Linked DNA regions of Homo sapiens: regions 1 and 3 are each linked to region 2. The links are contacts of gene promoters, found by promoter capture Hi-C in blood cells and fetal thymus (Javierre and others, 2016). All regions are on one chromosome and are shown on one strand. Each heading gives the region's core, a stretch centred on a gene start or on the middle of the fragment in contact. The rest is flanking DNA. Distances are from core to core; before and after follow the strand shown. Region 1 has its middle 34 kb from the start of RGCC. Region 2 holds the start of DGKH (diacylglycerol kinase eta). Region 3 overlaps RGCC (regulator of cell cycle).

The links. Contacts are between HindIII fragments. The CHiCAGO score rates a contact against its expected background, and 5 or more counts as called.
Region 1: a fragment that was not itself captured here is called in contact with the fragment with the promoter of DGKH in region 2 in 2 of 17 cell types (M0 macrophages and fetal thymus); the score reaches 5.3 in M0 macrophages.
Region 3: a contact is called between a fragment that was not itself captured here and the fragment with the promoter of DGKH in region 2, in 2 of 17 cell types (fetal thymus and M1 macrophages). The highest score is 7.7, in fetal thymus.

The regions. Positions count from the first base shown.
Region 1 is chr13:41,490,431-41,493,583 of GRCh38, forward strand. No RefSeq gene overlaps it. Among named protein-coding and RNA genes, the nearest start is that of RGCC, 34 kb to the left of the region's middle. The HindIII fragment of the contact is 1,556 bases long and covers 687-2,242 here.
Region 2 is chr13:42,046,865-42,050,024 of GRCh38, forward strand. It overlaps DGKH (diacylglycerol kinase eta), which reads left to right and starts at 1,784. Exons shown (of 30, transcript NM_178009.5): 1 at 1,784-2,101. The coding sequence starts at 1,910. RefSeq lists an enhancer at 931-1,020 and a silencer at 1,561-2,090. The HindIII fragment of the contact is 8,345 bases long and covers 1-2,900 here.
Region 3 is chr13:41,463,882-41,467,402 of GRCh38, forward strand. It overlaps RGCC (regulator of cell cycle), which reads left to right. Exons shown (of 5, transcript NM_014059.3): 3 at 2,942-3,049. Among named protein-coding and RNA genes, the nearest start is that of RGCC, 8.1 kb to the left of the region's middle. RefSeq lists a silencer at 623-837 and an enhancer at 1,331-1,590. The HindIII fragment of the contact is 7,241 bases long and covers 1-3,521 here.

The sequences.
Region 1 (3,153 bases), core at 215-2,714, 560 kb before region 2:
TTTTTGCGAGGGTGGATGTGTGGATTCTATACACATCATATTATTTGTGAATAGGAATAATTTTACTTCTTCTTTTACAGTCTGAATGCCTTTTATTTCTTCCTCTTCCCTTCTTAACCTAGTTAGAACTTCCAGTACAGTATTAAAAAGAAGTGGTGAGGTGACACATCCTCATTCTGTTCCTGATCTTAGAGGAAAAACTTTCAGACTTTCACCATCAAATATGTTAGTTGTGGGAATATTTTCTTTGTTAGCCAAATAAGCTCTTGACTTGTTTTCAAAACTTAATTTTTCCATTACCTGGATCTGGTTCTTATTCATGCTTGGGAACCTGTATCTGCTTTGGGCAATTTTTTTTTCATCATGGCACCAGCAGCTGTTCATTTTCACTGTAACTTTTATTATTAGTCTCTTCTGGAATGGAAGATCTAACTGTGTTTGGCTGCTGTTTCTTCACGAGCTCCTGGGATCTGGACTCCCCAAGTCAGAAGTGTAAGGTGTGAAGCTTTGTGGCTTGTTGTGAAGAGAAAGTCAGTGGTTTTGGGAAAAGAAATGGATCTCTTTACATAAGTGTGTGTGTGTGAGAGAGAGAGAGAGAGAGAGAGAGTGTGTGTGTGTGTGTGTGTGTGTGTGTGTGTGTGTGTGTGTGGAGTGGGGGAGGGGGCGCGGGTAGTTTGTACTCCATAAGCTTCTTTTGGATAATGACTTAAGGGCAAATGGGCTGTGGACTCAGTCACAGTTTGGAGTTCTGGGAATGTTGAAAAAAGTATTTTCAGAGTTTCCCAAGATATGTTTCAAGGAGAACAGTCCTAACTCGTTTTGCAAAAATTGCTGTTAAGGTCATATGTGCTTGAGAAATGCTGCATGCTATAGGCTCCACTTGGAGATTCATTATGCATATTAGTGCTTATATTACTTAGGGGCCAGTCTAAGTTCTGGATCAAAGACCCCAAGATACAGTGGCTCAAACAAGATGGAAGTTTCTTTCTAACAATCCAGAGATGATTAGTACAAGGCTGAGTAGGTGGCTTTCTGGTCCAAAGTGGCTGCTCCTGCTCTTGTCATCACATTTACATCCCAGCCAGCAGAAAGGAGAAATGGCAAGTCAAACATAGGCTTATTTCTTTAAACAACATGACTAGAAGAGACACCTCACTTCTGCTCACATCCCCTTATTCAGATCTTACATCCTCATTCCCAGCTGAAAGGGAGGCCAGGAAAAAGCATCTAGCTGGCATATATGTGTTCAGCTAAAATTTAAGAGTTTTATTATTAAAGAAAGAGGAAGAGAATGACTATTGGAGAACAACTAGTTATCTCTGCCACAGCATATTGAAGGCTTTGAGAAATCCTGCAGCTAAGAGATTTGGTCTGTTTTTGGTTTTTGTTTTGTTTGTTGATGAAAAAGCTACCAATAATCCAGAGTCATTAGTGTTCCTTGGAACATGCCTTGGGAAATGCTTTTATAGGTAACCTCAAGTCAGCGGGGTCTATTGCACTCCCCTTCCTCCAAGATCTGAGTGCTGAGACCATGGCCTTGCAAACTGCCTGATTATTATTTGGAGAGTGTCAGCTAGTGGGCTTTTCTGGAACAGAACGAGACTGGATATTGTATATGGGAAGCTGGTAGAATATTGTGCATGCAAAGCTGGTATGTTTTTGAGTTTGGAAATTCTCTGTTCTAATTTCAGGGAGGAACAGTTAGAGCAAAACAAAATGACAAATACTGCACACACCCAAGAGTAAGAGGCTCTAGTGCCAGCCCAAATATTTATACACCAGCCAGCCTCCAGAATGGGACAGAAGAACCAATGAATACCTTTTCCCTGGGGGATCATGACAGAGGTAGGCTACATTGCATGTTCCACATGTGAGAGGCATGTCTGAAATGAGGAGCAGTAGAAGGGCGGCCATTGGCAATTAGTCAAGGTTGGGAATCCTGAGGAGGCTTCTCCATGGGAACATCCCCCTGGGTCTGGGCTGAGGAAAGGAGGAGAAAGTATGAGCTTTCAGGCTAGACAGGGTTCAAATCCCAGCTCTGCCTTGTAGTAGCTGGGTGACCTTGAGCAAGCTCTTTAACCTCTCAGAGGCTCTGTTTCCTCATTTGTAAAGTGTAGGTGTGAGTCACTGTCTCCTAGGGTCATTGCAATGATCAAATATAGAAAAGAAAAAGTGTCTGGCACTCCTCCTCCTCCTTTTCATACCACAAGGACATTGGGCTCCTGTACCCAAGGTAAAATTAAGCTTTGCCTACAGTGGCTGCAGAGGGCAGTTCTAGCCCCATTATTCCTTGTCTGATAGAAGAAAGTGGCAAATCTGGCCTAATGCAATCACAGCGAGGAAGGCAGAGAAAAAACACTGGGCAAAGGGGCAGGAGAGAGGGTGAAAGCCCCAGTCCTGCTGTGAACTGGATCCCTTCCCCTCTCTGGGCCTCAGATTCCTCCAAGTTAATCGGACTAAATGGCCTGGGGTCTGTTCAGTTCATACAGTTGGTGGGCTCTGGCCTTATCCTCAGACTGCCAGCTCTTCTCTGAAAAATAGATGGAATTTTTCTTGAATTTTCAGTATGTGCAAGAAGCACGTACTTCTCCAAAATGCCTTCCTGTGTTAATTTATTTGACTAAGAAGGTTTGCAGTGACAGACACCAAACAGGAAACGGCTGTCATAGCTGCTGTCTGCAAGTTTTGTTTTTTTTTAAGGCTTTCTCCTGCACAACTCACCTTCTCTTCATGGCTTGGTATCAAGTGCTGGGGTGAATGGAAGGGAAAGGGAAAGGGAAACACATTTTTAGAAGGGAACATTTTCCTTCAAGTTCAGGGTCTACTGAAGGTTAAGGAGTATGACTATCCACAATGGCAGCGTTAGGTGGCTCCATTGCAGGGCCTTTGCACACTCAGTTCCCTCTGCCTGGAATGTCCACTCTGCTCGGTTTTTCTAGTTAATTCTACTTCTTTAGGATCAGCTCAAGCATCACTTTCTCAGAGTCTTCCAGATCCGTCTAGATTGTTTGTTGGTGCTGTGTTCTTGTAGAACCTTCCTTCAGTGCACTCATCTTGGTTTGCAATGGCATGTTCAGTAGTGTGATGTTTTGGTTAATGTCTCCCTACCCTCCTGTAACTGGACCATAAGCCCCACAAAGACAGGAGCCTTGT
Region 2 (3,160 bases), core at 534-3,033:
TTTACATTAAAGGAGAAGACTAAACTAAGTTTATTCTTTCAAAAGACCCTTTACTAGGTGTCCTTGTCTACATTTCCAAAATATTGGACTTGTCCATGACCAAACAGGTGGGAATGAAGGCCATTATTTTGATTATTTTTCTCTTTTAAGAATTTCCAGAAATATGTTCTTTGTAGATAAAGAATTACATATTTGTAGAGTTCTAAGCGTTCTTAAAATTCATTTTGCCCAACTCCTTCCTTTCCTAAAGGAGACAACAGAAGCTGCAGAAATAGCCTCTCTGTTATTATTACATAGCAGCAGTCTCCTGTCTTTAAATATTTGAACTAAACACATTTTACATTTTAATGAATTTAATTTACAGTGTGATGTCCAGTATTGGGATTGCATACTATTTCTTAAAACTTCTTAGAACTGTTAGCTCTAATATATCAAATTTCTTGTTGGGAGTAAGACTGCAAGTTAAAAAAAAAAATTAGAACCTTAGTTTGGAGGAACCTTAAAGGTCATGTCAACTGAAAAAATACGAAAGGAATGGTACTGAAAGGCATGAACATAACAGAGATTGAATGCTTTCTCCAGGTGGAGAGACTCCACAGTCTGGCAGGGACTTTTTGTCCTATTTAAAAATATAGCTAACACCAGTTTGGTGTTCTCTTTGGATGACAAGAGGGATCTGTCGTTTTAATGTCTTCTCTCGCAGCCCCCTCACCGCAGCCCCCTCACACCTGTGAGGCTTCTTTGACGTTGAGCGTGCACAACCCGCTGCCAGTCCGCGGTTCCCAAGTGCCCGCGCAGCCAGCTTGCAGGGGAGTTGTGCGCGGTGGCTACAGCCTGTTGATCCCACTTCCTCCTGCTCTAGTCCGGGCTAGGGAGTGGCTCTGCCAGGACTTCCAAGGCTTTTTGTCTCGGGTACTGGTGTTCGCATGGCTCGAGTGTATTGTTTTCTTCCAGGCAATCTCGGTTAGCGCTTCAGCTTAGACACTTCTTGTGCGTTCTGTCGTCTTGGGCTGCGTGTAGTCTCTTGTTTCTGCGCTTTCTCCACGCCCTTCCCAGTTTCCTGTTAGCCGAAGGGGATCGCTCTTTCTGAACGAAAAGTTCTCAGAGCGGAGCTGAACCTCCCGGAAAATGCTCTTCTCTTCCGTGTGCGCCGGATGGGGGTGGGGGTGGGCCAGAAACTGAACGCCGCCGTCAGGAGAGCTGAGGGGACCCGACGGCCCTGGCGGAGGCGGGAGAGGTACGGTCCTCGGAGTGGGGCTGGGGGTGGGGAAACCGACGAGGGGCAGCCCCCGACTGTCTTGGTGGCAGAGGGGACTTTTATTCAGCTGGAACCGCGCGGCGAGGCCCAAGTGTCTCTGGAGAGATTCGGGGTTCAGGAGGTGGCGGGTGCACCCAAGGGTGCTGGGAGGAAGCTCCAGGTTCCCATTCTTCCCCAGGGATCGGCGTTGCCCCTGCTGTCCAGAAGTGAGAGGGGGTGTGCGGGCATCGCCACTACGGGGTGGGCTGCAGAGGTTTCCTGCCTCCCCCACCCTCCTGTCCATCCTAGGGACCCAGACCGTAAGGGAGTGGAAGAGATGTTGCTCCAAACCCTGTCACCCCATCCTCTCTACCCGCGCTGGTCCTATCCGAGGCTGGGTGCGCAGGGGTCCGAGGCGGGCGGGGGTCCGTTACCTCTGCGTCCCACCGTGGCCGCCGCTCCGGCGGGAACCGAGCGGAGGAGCCGGGTGGACCCCTGCCTGGAGGGCGCCTGCCCCGGGCGACCCTTACCTCGCGGGGGTAGCTAGGGAAACGGAAGATGGCGGCGGCGGCCGGGCACGGGGTTCCGGGCTCCGCTCGGGCAGAGCCCACCCGCTGACCAACGCCGCCGCCCCCGCCGGGCGGTGCTGTGTCCCCGCAGGAGTCGGAGAGGATGGCAGGGGCCGGAGGCCAGCACCACCCTCCGGGCGCCGCTGGAGGAGCGGCCGCCGGAGCCGGCGCCGCGGTCACCTCCGCCGCTGCCTCGGCGGGGCCGGGAGAGGATTCGTCTGACAGCGAAGCGGAGCAAGAGGGACCCCAGAAACTGATCCGCAAAGTGTCTACCTCGGGGCAGATCCGGACCAAGGTAGGGCGGAGGAGGCGGGCCTGAGGGCCGCGTGGAAAGCGGGAGGTGGAGAGGGCGCGGGGGCGCTGGAACGCGCCGGGCGATCCCGGGAAGGCGGGGAAGGCGGGGAAGGCGGGGAAGGCGGGGAAGGCGGGGAAGGCGGGGAAGGCGGGGAAGGCGGGGAAGGCGGGGATGGTGAGACGGTGAGGCGGGGCGGGGCCTGGGGCGCGGGCGGGGCGGGGAGGGGTGGGGCGGGGCCCGGGGGCGCTGGACCGCGGTGCTGCGGGACGGATTCCCGGCGGCTGCGCGGGAGGCTGCGAGCCTGGGCTCCCAGGGAGTTCGACTGGCAGAGGCGGGTGCAGGGAACCCGCGGCTCGGCGGGAGCGTGGGAAAAAGCTGACGCGCAGTCGCGAGTTCCTACTTAGGGAACTTAAAAGGAGAGTTTCAATTTTTCTTCCCTGCCGTTCGGGGGAGCGTGCGCATGTGCTGGCCAACCAGCCTGCGCTGCAGTGAGCCCTGCTGCTTTCCCACTTAGGCCCACTCAGAGGGTGGGTGGAAGGTGACACCGGTCAGCCTTTCCTGCCCCTCTGCCTCCTGCTGCGGTCTGGAAGGCAGAAGCCCCGAGGCAGGCAAGTGGGACATGGTGTTCGCGGCTTAACCGCACCCTGCATGGCTCCAAGGGCTGGCCAGGCTTTCGTGTCGCAGGTTCCCGCCAAGTGCAGGCAGGGTTCAGAACCATGCGTCCATGGTTCTTTTTAATAATGAGAAGTTACCTCTGTGCTGTGTGGACATTAGGATGGTGTGTTACTCTTGTTAATGAAGCTTGTGCTGTCGACCTGTGAGGTCTCAAAGTTAATTTTTAATTTGATCATGAACATACCAAAGCAAATGCTTATGGATATTAAAGGATTTTTATGTATTCTAATTTTCATTGTAATTTAAAAATCTTCACAGAGAGAGTCTGTTATCAGTAGGGAAATTTAACGAGGATATTGAAAACGGAACCACAAAATCATTGGCTTGGGGTACCGTTTTTAAAAATAAATTTGCAAAAAATTCATTCTACAGTTATTTTTATGA
Region 3 (3,521 bases), core at 619-3,118, 580 kb before region 2:
TCTTCCAACATTCAATAGCGTTTGGCCTCCTTGCCTGTGAGGTGAACAAATTGTGGTGTCTTTCTCCCCTGCAGAGGAGTGTACGTGGATGGAAACTTGCTGGAGAGTAGGGGCAGAAGAGAGCTGAAGTTCAAAGTCAGGGTAGGGCCTGTGGTGCATGCCGGGTGGGTGGAGTGAGCAGTGGTGTGGAAAGTTGCTCTCCCAGGCCAGCTGCTTGTGGGAGATAGAGAGCGGAGGTGTGGTCCCTGCGATCTGGGCCAGCCAGCCTCTGGGCCCAGGGATGGGGGCGAAGCTCTCAGGTATCCTTCATAGCCACGGATAATGTGCCAAGGGCCTGGTATTTTCTGGCTCAGAGTCTAGGCATGAGGCCTGCCTCCTCAGGACCCTCTGTGGTTTTCTTGCCCCTAAATTTTGCCTTATCTTCTCCCCATGAGTTTCTCAGGCTGTATTTGTGGCGATTCTCCTGGTGACTGCATGGTGACAACAGTAAGGCTTCCTTGCAGGTCTGCAGTGGGTGTGGCCAGCTTCCTGTGTGTAGGGGAAAGGGCTTCCCTTGGGAGAATTGGAGAGCCCACCTTTGGAGGTGGGCTCGGTTGAGGGAGCCAGCAGGAGGGCTTCCCAAGTAAGGTTCCACGGAGTCCAAGGGTCCTGAGAAGTAGTAGCAGGAGCACCACAAAGAAGTGTCCCGTGGTCAGGTACACTGGGGAAATGGGGCTGGTTTTGTTTAACCGCAAGTCTTTTCAGGATGTTGGAAGTGGGCATACCCATGGGAATGAGCAAGGCTGTTTGGTGTTTCTCAGGTGTACCTGATCACACAGCCCTCGGAGGACCAGCACTCTGAGGAATGTATTTTTGGGGAAGTGTAGGTATCAGGTCCAGGATTTTGGATCTCAGTCCATGTTCATCCTCAAAGCCCAGTGATGGTGGTCATTTCAGGTGAGCTGGGCTGGACCTCTGAAGGAAGCAAAGATTGTGAGGGTTGCTCTCAAGGGTCTTCTGGGCATGTTTGGAAAAGTGGACAAGATGGCGGTGTCAGCGAAAAAGAGCAGGGGGCAGGTGGGCCCCTGGGCAGGAGAGGGTGGGGGGAAAGGGAGCCAGGTGAGGCACCTGAGAAGTTGTGGCAGCCTCTTAGGGACAAAGCTGAATTTCCCTGAGACTAGAAACCTCTTCTTCCGAAAACTCTGATACTTTTTGTACTGGGCCTATCTCTTGTCACTTAGGCAAATTCCTTTTCAGTTAATGGGACCAAAGAGAGATGTTTTTGCCTCCCCCTAAGCTGGAGGTAGTTGGCTTAAAGTGGAAGAATCCCGAGGAGGCGGGGACCTGGTAAGGCCCCCATCATTCAGCTGCCCTCTCACACCTGAAGAGCCACTTCTCTGCTCCAACTGTGGCTGGCTTTGTGTTTTGTTTTAACCAGGAAGGCTGTTCCCCGTGACCTCAGGGGCCACATCCTGCTTCTGCTGCCTGCCTTGCCTTTGCACCCTTTGAGTCAGTGCTGCTCAGCCAGCAGCCCCTTTCTGAGTCACAGCCACACAGCTGGGCCAACCGTGCGTTGGTTTCCTTCCCCTTAGCAGGACTTAGAGAATCTCAGAACTTTAGAGCTAGAAGTGCCTTTAAGGATTATTTAGTCCGCCTTCCCATTCTATTGATAAGTAAGCTAGGCCCAGAGATGTACTAGCTCAAAGGCACCCTAGTACTTAGTAGTTGACTGGATGGTCCCCTTGACTCCCAGTTCAGCCTTGAACTTCTGGGGCCTCATCTTGCTGTGGTTCAAGTCTTTGGAGGTATGAGAATAGAGGGAGCCATGATGTCACTCCAAGTGTCTAATAGATGAACTTCCAGGAGAAGATGTCTTTATCTTTGACCTTCTGGCTTATCTGAAGAGTACAGACTCTTAGGAAAACCTCTCTTAAGTAAAAGAGAGGATTATTAAATTATAGGACAGCAAGAGAGCAAAGATCTCTCTTGAGCAGGGAAAGAGGCTTAAGTCATGGGATACTGGATGTTTGTATTTTAGGAGGCTCAGAGGGCAGAAGGGACATATTTCACTTGAGATGATTCCTTTTGCCTAAAATCCTTACCCCCACACTCCCACCATCAACCAAGCACTGGTCATGATGATCCTATCACCCCCTTCCTGTATTGGGGAAGCAAGGGCCTTTGGTATACTTGATTTGACACACACACACTCTCTCACTTCTCACTCACACTCTCACACTCACATGCTCTCACACACACACTCTCATTTTCTCACACACACTCCACACTCACACACGCACACACTCTCACACACTTTCTCACACACACACTCACACACACTCATACACTCACACACTTTCTCACACACACATATTCTCACACACACCCACACTCACACACTCATGCACACACACACACTTTCACACAAACACACACACACACTTTCTCTCTCACACACACACACTCCCTCTCTCCCCTGTCTCGAATCATTTTGGGGGCATAAACATAAAACCTGGAAATCAACCTGTTTTCTAATCTTTTTTTTTGAGACAGAGTCTCACTCTGTCACCCAGGCTGGAGTGCAGTGGTGTGATCTTGGCTCACTGCAAACTCCACCTCCCAGATTCAAGCGAGTCTCCTGCCTCAGCCTCCCAAGTAGCTGGGGCTACAGACACACACCACTATGCCTGGCTAATTTTTGTATTTTTAGTAGAGATGGGGTTTCACCATGTTGGCCAGGCTGGTCTTGAACTCCTCATCTCTGGTGATCCACCTGCTTCAGCTTCCCAAAGTGCTGAGATTACAGCCGTGAGCCACCCCATGCCTGGCTGTTTTCTTTACTATAGAGTTGCAGCTTTGGCTTATTTTGAAGACAAATTGTTGGTTATCAATAGACTATAAAGTGCTAAGTCTATAATCTCATGAGTACTATTTCTAATGAGTATATTTTCCTTCCTGAAAGGTGCAGATTCACTTTATAGGAACAGCTTCAGCTTCAGTGATGAAAAACTGAATTCTCCAACAGACTCTACCCCAGCTCTTCTCTCTGCCACTGTCACTCCTCAGAAAGGTAAGGTCATTAGTTGGAATTTGAGTTTTTTGCTTTTTTATTCCTCTCTCCTTCTCAATCCCTTCTCTGTCCCTTTTATCCCTAAACAATCTTTCTCAAATGTACAAAACAAATAGGTAAGACTAATGTCTTAATACTGTAGAGTATACAGTGGAATTTTTTATTTCTCAGGATTTTAATCAGTGTGAACATGAAATCAGATAATTTGGGGCAGAAAACCTGAAGTCACAGGGAGAAAGAAAATTTGGAGACTAGACTGTTCTCTCTCATGTGATGTAATCAAGACTGTGCAAATGACAGTGTTTCTTAGGAGTCTCCTCCCAGACTTGTTGGTTCTAGAATTTAAAACTCAGCAGTTTGCCTTTGCAGATAGTGGGATTCTTTTTATTGCATTAATTATTTAACCAATGCTTTCAGATGACCAATTTAGCAATTAAATGGGGTTGTCATTATTAGATAAGCTATGATCTAA